Regions from separate parts of the Homo sapiens genome. Here all the other regions are linked to region 4. Evidence: promoter capture Hi-C in human tissues and cell types (Jung and others, 2019). All regions are on one chromosome and are shown on one strand. The core of a region is centred on a gene start or on the middle of the fragment in contact, and the rest is flanking DNA. Distances in the headings are between cores, read along the strand shown. Region 1 overlaps LOC105378575 (a long non-coding RNA gene). Region 2 has its middle 30 kb from the start of SCART1. Region 3 overlaps SCART1 (scavenger receptor family member expressed on T cells 1). Region 4 holds the start of CALY (calcyon neuron specific vesicular protein).

Region 1 (2,908 bases), core at 361-2,860, 160 kb before region 4:
TTAGGGAGATTGGGATGGTGGAGTGGATTAGTCACTTTAGACCTACTCATCCCAGCTGGGAGGGTCCAGAAGATACACCCTTGACCAACGCCTTGCAAAATAGATTTGTGAGGGCAGCACCTGAATCTTTGAAGAGCCTTGCAATTGCTTTTCTCTGTATGTCAGATCTAATGGTGGGAGCCACAGTCACTCAACTACAAAACTTAAATATAATGGTAACAATTGGATCCCGAGGTGGCAGGGGCCAAGTGGTGGCACTCAGCTATCAAAAGCAAGGTGGGCATAGCTATCATAATGGACAGCAGAGGCAAAGCGGCAATCAGAATAGTCTGACTCGTGTAGAGCTCTGGCATTGGCTAATTAATCATGGTGTTCCTAGAAGTGAAATTGATAGAAAGCCTACTGCATTCCTACTTAATTTATACAAGCAGAAAACTTCTAGGTCGAATGGATAAAAGACTAATTTGAATTATAAAAATGTAGAATCATGGCCTCTTAATCAATTTCCAGACTTGAGCCAGTTTACAGATCCAGAACCACTTGAATGAAGGGGAAGCCAAGTTCCCATTAGGAAGGACCCTACTACATTACCAGCAATTTATGCAGTGAATCTTTCTCCCATCCTTCCCCAAGGAGACCTCTGGCCTTTTACCAGGATAACTGTGCGCTGGGGAAAGGGAAATGATCAGACATTTCAGGGACTACTGGACACTGGCTCTGAGCTGACATGGATTCCAGGGGACCCAAAACGTCATTGTGGTCCTCCAGTTAAAGTAGGGGCTTATGGGAGTCAGGTAATTAATGAAGTTTTAGCTCAGGTCTGACTTACAGTGGGTCCAGTGGGTCTCTGGACTCATCCTGTGGTCATTTCCCTAGTGCGAGAATGCATAATTGGCATAGACATACTTAGCAGCTGGCAGAACCTTCACATTGGCTCCCTGACTGGTAGGGTGACGGCTACTGTGGTGAGAAAGGCCAAATGAAAGCCATTAGAGCTGCCTCTACCTAGAAAAATAGTAAATCAAAAACAATATTGTGTCCCTGGAGGGATTGCAGAGATTAGTGCCACCACCAAGGACTTGAAAGACTCAGGGGTGGTGATTCCCACCACATTCCCATTCAACTCTCCCATTTGGCCTGTGCAGAAGACAGATGGATCTTGGAGAATGACAGTGGATTACCATAAGCTTAACCAAGTGATGATTCCAATTGCAGCTGCTGTACCAGATGTGGTTTCATTATTTGAGCAAATTAACACATCTCCTGGTACTTTGTGTGCAACCATTGACTTGGCAAATGCCTTTTTCTCCATTCCTGTCCATAAGGCCCACCAGAAACAATTTGCCTTCAGCTGTCAAGGCCAGCAATATACCTTTACTGTCCTACCTCAGGGGTATATGAATTATCTGGCTTTGTGTCATAATCTTATTCAGAGAGAACTTGATCGCTTTTTGCCTCCAAAAGATATCACACTGGTCCATTACATTGATGACATTATGCAGATTGGATCCAGTGAGCAAGAAGTAGCAAACACTGGACTTATTGGTGAAACATTTGCATGCCAGAGGATGGGAAGTGTATCTGCCTAAAATTCAGGGACCTTCTACCTCAGTAAAATTTCTAAGGGTCCAGTGGTATGGGGCCTGTAGAGATATTCCTCCTAAGGTGAAGGATAAGTTGCTGCATTTGGCCCCTCCTACAACCAAGAAAGAGGCACAATGCCTAGTGGGCCTATTTGGATTTTGGAGGCAACACATTCCTCATTTGGGTGTGTTACTCCAGCCCATTTATTGAGTGACCTGAAAAGCTGTCAGTTTTGAGTGGAGTCCAGAACAAGAGAAGGCTCTGCAGCAGGTCCAGGCTGCTGTGCAAGCTGCTCTGCCACTTGGGCCATATGGCCCAGCATATCCAATGGTGCTTGAGGTGTCAGTGGCAGATAGGCATGCTGTTTGGAGCCTTTGGCAGGCTCCCATAGGTGAATCACAGTGGAGGCCTCTAGGATTTTGGAGCGAGGCCCTGCCATCTTCTGCAGATAACTACTCTCCTTTTGAGAGACAGCTCTTAGCCTGTTACTGGGCTTTGGTGGAAACTGAACGTTTGACTGTAGGTCACCAAGTCACCACGCGACCTGAACTGCCTATCATAAACTGGGTGCTTTCTGACCCATCTAGCCATTAAGTGGGTTGTGCACAGCAGCATTCCGTCATCAAATGGAAGTGGCACTAGGGAAATGACCACAGGATGGAAGTGGTATATATGTGATCAGGTTCCAGCAGGTCCTGAAGGCACAAGTAAGTTACATGAGGAAGTGGTTCAAATGCCCATGGTCTCCACTCCTGCCACCCTTCCTTCTCTCCCCGAGCCTGCCCCAACGGCCTCATGGGAAGTTCCCTATAATTAGTTGGGCCTGGTTCGTGGATGGTTCCGCATGATATGCAGGCACCACCCAAAAGTGGAGAGCTGCAGCACTACAGCCCCTTTCTAGGACATCCCTGAAGGACAGTAGGGAAGGAAAATCTTCCCAGTGGGCAGAACTAAGAGCAGTGAACCTGGTTGTGCACTTTGCATGGAAGGAGAAATGGCCAGATGTGTGATTATATACTGATTCATGGGCTGTAGTTAATGGTTTGGTTGGATGGTCAGGGACTTGAAAGAAGAATGATCGGAAATTGTGACAAAGAAATGTGGGGAAGAGGTATGTGGATGGACCTCTCTGAGTGGTCAAAAACTGTGAAGATATTTGTATCCCATGTGAGTGCTCACCAATGGGTGACCTCAGCAGAGGAGGATTTTAATAATCAAGTGGATAGGATGACCACTTCTGTGGACACCATTCAGCCTCTTTCCCAAGCACCTCTGTCATTGCCCAATGGACCCGTGAACAAAGTGGCCATGGTGGCAGGGATGG
Region 2 (2,895 bases), core at 292-2,791, 150 kb before region 4:
ACAAAATACTAGCAAACTGAATTAAACAACACATCAAAAAACAATAACCATGCTCAAGTGGGCTTTATCCCAGGAATGCAAGGATAGTTCAACCTACACAAATCAACAAACATCATACATACATCAGTAGAATGAAGGGAAAAAAACATGATCATCTCAATAGATGCAGAAAAATGTTTTGATAAAATTCAACATCTCCTTCATGATAAAAACTCTTAATAAATTAAATATATAATCAAAGTAACTCAACATAATAAATATATATGACAAACCCACAGTTAACAGCTTATTGAATGAAGAAAAGTCGGGGGGGCATCCTTGTTTCAGTGCTTAGAGGAAAAGAAAGTTCTAACTCTTAGTACTGATAAATTTAGTAAAGTTGCAGGATTCTAATATACAAAAATCAGTAGCATTTCTATACGTGACAATACAGTTTAGATATTTGTCCCCTCCAAATCTCATGTTGAAATTTGTTCCCCAATGTTGGAGGTGGGGCCTAATGGCAGGTATTTGGAGCATGGGAGCAGATCCCTAATGAATGTCTTGGTGCCATCTTCATGGTAATGAGCAAGAACTGATTATATTTTAAAAGCCTGGCACCTTTCTTCCATCTTTCTCTCTCCCTTCACCTCACCATGTGAGGCAGCTCCGTCTTGCCTTCTTCCATGAGTGGAAGCTTTGAGGCCCTCACCAGAAGCATATGCTAGTGCCATGCTTCTGTTACAGCCTGCAGAACTGTGAGCCAAATAAACCTAATTTCTTCATAAATTACCCAACCTCAGGTATTCCTTTATAGCAACACAAATGGATTAAGGCACATGAACAATGAACTAGCTGAAAAAGAAATCAAGAAAGCAATCCCATTTACAATAGATACAAAAAAACAGTGCCTAGGAACAAATTTAGCCAAGGAAGTAAAAGATCTCTACAGGGAAAACTACAAAATATTGATAACAAAATTGAAGAGGATACAAATAGAGAGATATCTCATGCTTATGGATAGGAGAATGACAATACTACCCAAGGCAATCTACAGATTCAGTGCTATCTCTACCAAAATACCAATGACATTCCTACAGAACTAGAAAAAAAATCATAAAATTTGTATGGAATCACAAAATATCCCGAATAGCCAAAGCAATCCTGAGCAAAAGGAACAAAGCTGAAGCTATCATCACATTAGCAGACCTCAAAATATACTACAAAGCTGCAGTAACCAAAACAGCAATGGCATGGTACTGGCATAAAAACAGACACATAGACCAATGGAACAGAATGGAGAACCCAGAAATTAATCCACATATCTACAGCCAACTGATTTTTGACAAAGGTGCCAAGAATATTCACTGAGGAAAGGACAGCTTCTTTAATAAATGGTACTGGGAAAACTAGATATTCACATGCAGAAGAATAAAACTAGACCCCTTTCTACTCTATACAAAAATCAACTCAAAATGAATCAAAGATCTAAATGTAAGACCCAAAACTATAAAACTGCTAGAAGAAAACATAGGGTAAATGCTTCAGAACATTGGTCTGAAAAAAAAGATTTTATGAATAAGACCTTGAAATCACAAGCAACAAAAGCAAAAATTAACAAATAGTGTTATATCAAACTAAAAGATTTTTACATGGTGAAGGAAACAATCAAAAGAGTGGTGAGACAACCTATAGAATGGGAGAAAATATCTGCAAACCAATCATCCAAGAAGTGATTAATATCCAGAATATAAAAGAAGCTGCAACATCTCAACAGAAAAAAAAAGATTTAAAAATGGGCAAATGATCTGAATAGACATTTCTCAAAAGAAGACATGCAAATAGACAACAGGTATGTAAAAAAAATGCTCAACATCAAGAATCATCAGGGAGACACAAATCAAAACCACAATGAGATGTCATCTCATCCCAGTTAGGACGGTTATTATCAAAAAGACAAAAAAATAACAAATGGCGGCAAGAGCGCAGATAAAAGGGAACTCTCGTGCACTGTTAGTGGATATGTAAATTAGTACAGCCATCATGGCAAACAGTATGGAGGTTTCTCAAAAACTAAAAATAGAACTACCATATGAACCAGCAATCCCACTGGGTATTTATCCAAAGGAAAAGAAATCAGTATATCAAAGGGATACCTGTACCCCCATGTTTATTGCAGCACTATTCACAATAGCCAAGATATGGAATCAACCTAAGTGTCCATCAATGAATGAAGGGATAAGGAAAATGTGGTATATATACACAATGGAATACTATTCAGCCATAAAAAAGAATGAAATCTTATCATGTGCAGCAACATGGATGGAACTGGAGGTCATTATGACAAGTGAAATAAGCTGGCCATAGAAAGACAAATATTGCATGTTCTCACTCACATGTGGGAGCTTAAAAAGTTGATCTCATGGAGGTAGAGGGTAAAATGATAGTTACCAGATGCTGGGAAGAGTGTGGGGGAAGGGGATGAACAGAGGTTGTTAAGGGGTACAAACATACAATTAGACAGAAGGATCTGATCATCACACACGGGTACCCGATTTGATCATCACACATGGGCACCTGATTTGATAATTACATTACTCAGCAAACGTACACCCTTATTTATGCATTTTGTTGTTTGAAAATATTACCTTAAAAGGAAAAATAACTATAAACAAATGTTTAATGATATGCACGCAGAAGTATTTAAGAAGTGAAATGATGTTTGCAACTGGCTTTGAAATGCATAAAATAGATGGATTGGTGATGGACACAAGGATAATCAATTAAACAAAGATAATAAGTTAATGACAGAATGTAGGTGATTGGTGCATAAATTAAAGAATGAGAATGCCCTTCTCTGAAAGGAAGTAAATCAGTAAAGCCCCATGTATTTCCTGCAGGTCATTAAAAAGAAAG
Region 3 (2,948 bases), core at 449-2,948, 130 kb before region 4:
GCTGATGCAGATGTCTGCCACTCTCTCTGGCCAATAAAATGAGCCCTAAGTGAGATCAGCCTGCAGGCTGAAGCAACTCTGCCCTGAATGCTGATCCACCGTGTTGACTTCTGACCAACTCCAGTTCCGGGAAGGCCTCTAAGATTTCTATTTTATCTACTGTTCCTTGCATAAGAGCATGCATTCACTGTAAATCCTGCCCTTAAGCAATTGTCCTACATGTCCCCTTCCCCTGAGGTATATAAGTTCTAGTTGTGAGGGATGATAATATGGGCATCCACCGTCTCAGCTAGAGGCCATCCAAGGCATGGACATGGCTTGTCTTCATAAGTCCCTTTTAAGTGTTTCTTTCTAAGGAACTGGATTTGTCTGCCTCTTTCTTCAGCTTCTCAGTTCCTTGGACTTTGGGGGTAGGTCTGCATAGGCCTGACTGCTGTGGGGCACCCCGCCTGCCCAGACCCCAACACCAGGCTGGAGCTGTGAGCTGCTCTTGCTCCTGCACACCAGTTGATGGGATCAGGGTGGGCTCACGCTTACCCCTCTGCATGGCTTGTGTGACTCGAGGCAGAATCAGAAAAGCCATGAGGCCCAGAAGGAGAAGACCAAGAAGGGATCCCAGGACGACACTGACCACCCAGAATGTCCGGAAGGGAGCTGCAGGCAGTGGGGGGCCTGGGCCAGGCTCTGAGAAAGGAGAGGTCTTGAGCCAGCTGGGTGGTGGGGGGGACCTGCACACCCTCAGCAGGACAGGGTGGCTCCAAGGGCCCAGCCACACCCTCTCCCTCATGGAGGACCTGCGAGTCGGAAGTGCTGGGGGGGCATCTGCTGGTTTCAGCTGTGCAGAGCACCCCAAAATGGCTAGTGTCCACTGGGGGTGTCTGCTTTCAAGGGACAGCCCCCTTCCTTGGTAAAACATGGCCCCCAGGCAGATGCCAGGGCAAGTCACAAGAGGTGACCAGAGCACAGAGAATGGGAGTGGCTCAGGGAAAGTTACCACTGCTGCTGCTTTTGCTAAGGTCATCACTGTGGTTAACTGTTTGTTTTCTGCAAAGAGAATGAGGTGCAGGGAACAACTGAACCTGCCAACACCCAGGTGACACATACCCGAAATGAACAAGGATTGGAATAAACAAAAGGGAATTCCCAAAAAAGATTAGGGGGAAACCCCAGGGAGTGCATGTCCCAAACAGGCCTCCACAGCAAATCAGCCTATCCCAGAAAAATCCCAGGGTGGAAACCAACCCACTAACACCTGGGCGAGCTCTCCTGCCCACCGAAGTGACACTCAAGACTGACTCCATCCCAGCGCCCTCTGCCGGCCCCATGACCGACTTCCCACCGCCCCCCACTCACCCCAGCAGCGCACGCCCGCGTCCTCCTCGTGCGCGCGGTCTCCGCGTCCCCACCGCTCCGCAGGGCAGCCCCACAGGGACGCCTCGCTGCCCCGGCACCCCACCTCGTCCAGCCACACGGGCCCGGAGCCAGGGCCAAAGGCGGCGGCCCCCAGGGCGGCGACGGCCCGACCACAGCCCAGCTGGCGGCACACGACCTCCGCGTCCGCCAGGTCCCAGCCATCGTCGCACACGGTGCCCCAGGAGCCCGCGTGCCAGAGCTCCACGCGCCCGGAGCAGCGGTCCTCGCCCCCGCGCACGCGCAGTGCGCCCTCCTCTGCAAAAGGGGCTGCGGTCACTGCGGGGGCTGGACCGGGATGGGAAGGAGGACAGCGACAAGGACAGAGGGGTACCTGGGCAGCCGAGCCAGGAGGAGCAGTTGAGGGGCTCCCCAGCAGCCTGTGGCCTGTCCTCTGACAATCCTGCGGGTTAAACAGCAGCTCTGAGAGCTTCGGTGCCCAGAGAAGCTTCACAAGGAAGGCTGTGGATCCTAGTGACCCCCAGGCCCAGGCTCTGATTGAATGGCATCCCCTGTAAGTGACCTGTCAGGACAGATAAACCTCTTCCCAGGCACCCCCAGAGACCTCTAATGCCCACCTGCACAGGTAATCCAGACCTGCTCTCGAAGGTCGCAAGAGTGCGGGTGCCATGGGTGGGAAGGGCATTGCCACAGAGTGGAGTTGGGCAGCCTGCGGCACTCGATGTTGTCCACCCAGGCGGTCCCGGTGCCCGCAGAGGGGAAGGGCCTGTTCTCCAGCCAGCCCCACTCCCCACACCCCACACCCCAGCTGCTTGCAGATGATGGACAAGGAGAGGTCCTTCAGGGCATTGCTGCACATGGCGCCCCAGGTCCCATTGTAGAACACGTCCAGCCACCCAGCACAGCAGCAGGTCCCACCTCGCAGCCTCAGAGCCACCGACTCTGCAAGGCAAGCACAGTCAGGCCAGGGAGTGCCCTGCCTGGGCACCATGGGCAGTCTCAGAAGGAGGGGGCTAAGCTCAAGGGGTCCCAGCACTGAGATCAGTTATAGAAACAGTATAGAGCTTCTTCAGAAAATTTAAACTAGAGCTACTACACAATCCAGCAATCCCACTGCTGTGTATAGACCCAGAGGAAATGAAATCAGCCCAGCAGAAACATCTGCACGCCCAGGTTCACTGCACGCCCAGGTTCACTGCAGCACCCAGGTTCACTGCACGCCCAGGTTCACTGCACGCCCAGGTTCACTGCAGCACCCAGGTTCACTGCACGCCCAGGTTCACCGCAGCACTATTGACAATAGCCAAGATGTGGAATGAGTGTAATGTCCAACAACAGATACATGGATAGAGAAAATACAGCATATACACAATGGAGTTACTCAGCCATTAAAAAAACAATAAAATCCCATCATTTGCAGCAATACGGATGGAACTGGAGGACACTGTGTTAAGTGAAACAAGCTAGAAAGCTAAATAGCACATGTTCTCACTCATAAATGGAAGCTTAAAAATGTTGATCTCCTAGAAGTGAAAAGCAGAACAGAGGATACTAGAGGTTGGGAAGGGTTGGGGGAG
Region 4 (2,787 bases), core at 281-2,780:
TGTGTGTCTGGGGTGTGGGTCAGGTGTGTGTATGTCAGGTGTGTGGTGTGTGTGTGTCAGGGATGTGTTTGAGGTGAGTGTGTTTGGGTGTGTCTGGTGTGTTTCTGGGGTATGTGTCAGATGGGCATCAGGTGTGTCAGGTGTGTGGGGGGGTGTGTTTGGGTGTTTCTGCTGTTTAAGGTGTGTGTTTCTGGGGTGTGGGTCAGGTGTGTGTGTCAGGTGTGGGGTGTGTGTCAGGGGTGTGTGTGAGGTGTGTTTGGGTGTCTGGTGTGTGAGATGTGTGTTTCTGGGGTGGGTGTCAGGTGCGTGTCGTGTATGTGAGATGTGTGGGTGTGTCTGGTGTGTGAGGTGTGTTTCTGGGGTGTCAGGTGTGTGTGTGTGAGGTATGTCTGGGGTGTGTGTGTGAGGTATATCTGGGGTGTGTGTGAATTGTGTGTTTAGATGTATTTGGTGTTTGAGGTGTTTCTGGGGAGAGTGTCAGGTGTGTGTGTCTGGGGTGTGTGTCAGATGTGTGTTTCTGGGGTGTGGGTCAGGTGTGTGGGGTGCGGGTTAGGTGTGTGGGGTGTGTCTCAGGTGTGTGTGTGTCTGGGGTGTGTGTGAGGTGTGTGTCTGGATGTGTCTGGTGTTTGAAATGTGTGTTTCTGGGGGCTGTCAGGTGTGTGTCAGCTGTGTGTGTGTCTGAGGTGTGTGTGAGATGTGTGTTTGGATGTCTGGTATTTGATGTGTGTATTACTAGGGTGTGTGTGTCAGGTGTGTGTGAGGTGTGTGTTTGGATGTATCTGTTGTTTGAGGTGTTTCTGGGGTATGTGTGTCAGGTGTGTGGGGTGTGTGTGTCAAATGTGTGCCTGGGGTGTGTATCAGGTATATGTGTTGTTGGGTGTGTGTGAGGTGTGTGTCAGGTGTATGTTTCTGGGGGTGTGTCAGGTGTGTGTGTCACGTGTGTGTCAGGTGTGTGTCGGGTGTGTGTGAGGTGTGTGTTTGAATGTGGTGTTTGAGGTGTGTGATTCTGGGGGTGTGTCGGGTGTGTCAGGTGTGTGTGTGTCTGGGGTGTGTGTGAGGTGTGTGTGGTGTGTGTGTCGGGTGTGTGTTGGGTGTGTGTCTGGGGTGTGTGTGTCTGGGGTGTGTTTGGATGTGTCTGGTGTTCGAGATGTGTGATTCTGGGGTGTGTGTGTGTCAGGTGTTTGGGGTGTTTGTGAGGTGTGTGTGTGGGGGGTGTTTGTGTGAGGTGTGTGTCTGGGATGTGTGTGAGGTGTGTGTTTGGATGTGTCTGGTGTTCGAGGTGTGGTTTCTGGGGATGTGTCAGGTGTGTGTGCATCAGGTGTGTGTATGAGGTGTGTGGTGAGGCCCGAGCAGGGTCTGAGGGGCGCATGCGCGGCTCCCTAGCCGGGGCGGTGGGTGGGGGTAGAGGGTGCGGGACCAGAGTCGAGGCCCCGCCTCTAGCCGCGTTTCCATGGCGACCACAGCCTCGGTCTCGCAGCTGCAGCCCCCGCCCCGCCCGGCCGCGAAGCGTCTGGAACCGCATCCTCCGCATCCACATCCGCATCGTCGTCCTCCCCGACCGCGTCCTGCAGCAGCTGCCAGTGGAGCCGCCTGTGAGCTATTTCCACATTTCTTGCAGAATGTGGGCGGGGGGCCCGAAGGGGTGCGGGGGTGCGAGGCGCGTGTGCGGGTGTGTGTGCGAGGTGCGTGTGCTCGCGAGTGCGCTTGTGCGTGGCGCGCGTGCGGATGAGGGTGTGAGTGCGTGTGTGCGAGGCGCGTGTGCGGGTGCGAGTGTGCAGGGCGCGCTGCACGGCCGCCCTCCTCCCTCGGGCCTCCTCTGGCTGCCCCAGGCCAGTCCGACCCCGCGGACCCGAGGGCGGTGGTCTCCAGGCTTCCCGTGACGGCGGGGCCCCGGCACGAGGATCGCAGCCTGGAGTTAAGGGTGTCTCCGAGGTGGGGAGGGGGTACCAGTCCCAGCTCCCGCCCAGCTCTGTCCGCCGGAGGCGGGGTGGGGAGGGCGACAGAAGGGGCGTCGGACCAGAGCACCGAGGAGCCGCTGCCCGCACGGGGGTTGGGGGTGGGCGGTGGGCTTGATGGGGGCGTCTGCGTGACAGGCAAGAGGTGGCCAGGAGGCCGGGAGGGGCGCGGCTCCGGAACCACCTGCAGCAGGCTCGGGTGCGGGGCCACAGGTGGCTGGGCTGGAAGCGGGAGCAGCTGCGCGCCCACTCCCCTCCGAGGGGCTGCGCCGACCCCGCAGTGCAGCTGCCTTTTAATAAGCGGGGCAGCCACAGCCCCCTGCAGCGCCAGGGGCGGGAGGCTGCGGTGGCGCCCGCGGGGGCTGGGCGGGACCCTCAGATCCGCAGTCACACGCGCTGGTGCCCGGCCCGCACAAGCCCACCTGCGCGCACCCCCCAGCGTGACGCAGCATTCCATGGTTGGGGGGGGCGCATGCGGAAGCGAGTCTGTGACGTGACCTCCAGCCGAGCTTCCGTGGACTTTCGACTGAGAGCCTGCACCCCCGCCCCCGCCATCCATCTGTCCATCTGCACGGCCTCACTCACCCGCGCCCCCACCCATCTGCCATCAGCATCCCACGCCTTCCCCGCCCCAGAGACAGGAGCCGGGCACTGCCTCCCTGCCAGAGCGCGGCGGGTGGGGCGCAGGGGACCCGCAGAAGATGCCGCGACAGCGCAGGTGCAGGGAGGGGCCGGGAGGAGAAGCAGAGGCGGCCCCCCAGTTCCACGAGCCGCGTGTCATCCGTGGGAGGAGGCCCCCATGACGCAGCAATGCAAAGGGAAGGTCTGGTGT

Evidence for each region. Contacts are between HindIII fragments. The study calls those that stand out against the background at their distance.
Region 1: a contact is called between a fragment that was not itself captured here and the fragment with the promoter of CALY in region 4, in 2 of the 25 tissues and cell types used here (IMR-90 fibroblasts and aorta).
Region 2: a contact is called between a fragment that was not itself captured here and the fragment with the promoter of CALY in region 4, in 1 of the 25 tissues and cell types used here (dorsolateral prefrontal cortex).
Region 3: a contact is called between a fragment that was not itself captured here and the fragment with the promoter of CALY in region 4, in 2 of the 25 tissues and cell types used here (lymphoblastoid cells and spleen).

What each region holds. Positions count from the first base shown.
Region 1 is chr10:133,498,358-133,501,265 of GRCh38, reverse strand. The region is part of intron 4 of LOC105378575 (a long non-coding RNA gene); the gene reads left to right. Among named protein-coding and RNA genes, the nearest start is that of CYP2E1, 28 kb to the left of the region's middle. The HindIII fragment of the contact is 6,536 bases long and covers 1-2,908 here.
Region 2 is chr10:133,482,201-133,485,095 of GRCh38, reverse strand. No RefSeq gene overlaps it. Among named protein-coding and RNA genes, the nearest start is that of SCART1, 30 kb to the right of the region's middle. The HindIII fragment of the contact is 7,104 bases long and covers 1-2,895 here.
Region 3 is chr10:133,463,971-133,466,918 of GRCh38, reverse strand. SCART1 (scavenger receptor family member expressed on T cells 1) reads right to left here. Exons shown (of 12, transcript NM_001396050.1): 7 at 2,008-2,313; 8 at 1,745-1,813; 9 at 1,354-1,668; 10 at 538-684. Among named protein-coding and RNA genes, the nearest start is that of SCART1, 12 kb to the right of the region's middle. The HindIII fragment of the contact is 5,558 bases long and covers 1-2,948 here.
Region 4 is chr10:133,335,639-133,338,425 of GRCh38, reverse strand. It overlaps CALY (calcyon neuron specific vesicular protein), which reads left to right and starts at 1,530. Exons shown (of 6, transcript NM_015722.4): 1 at 1,530-1,592. The region is part of intron 5 of ZNF511-PRAP1 (ZNF511-PRAP1 readthrough); the gene reads right to left. RefSeq lists an enhancer at 2,600-2,787. The HindIII fragment of the contact is 49,503 bases long and covers 1-2,787 here.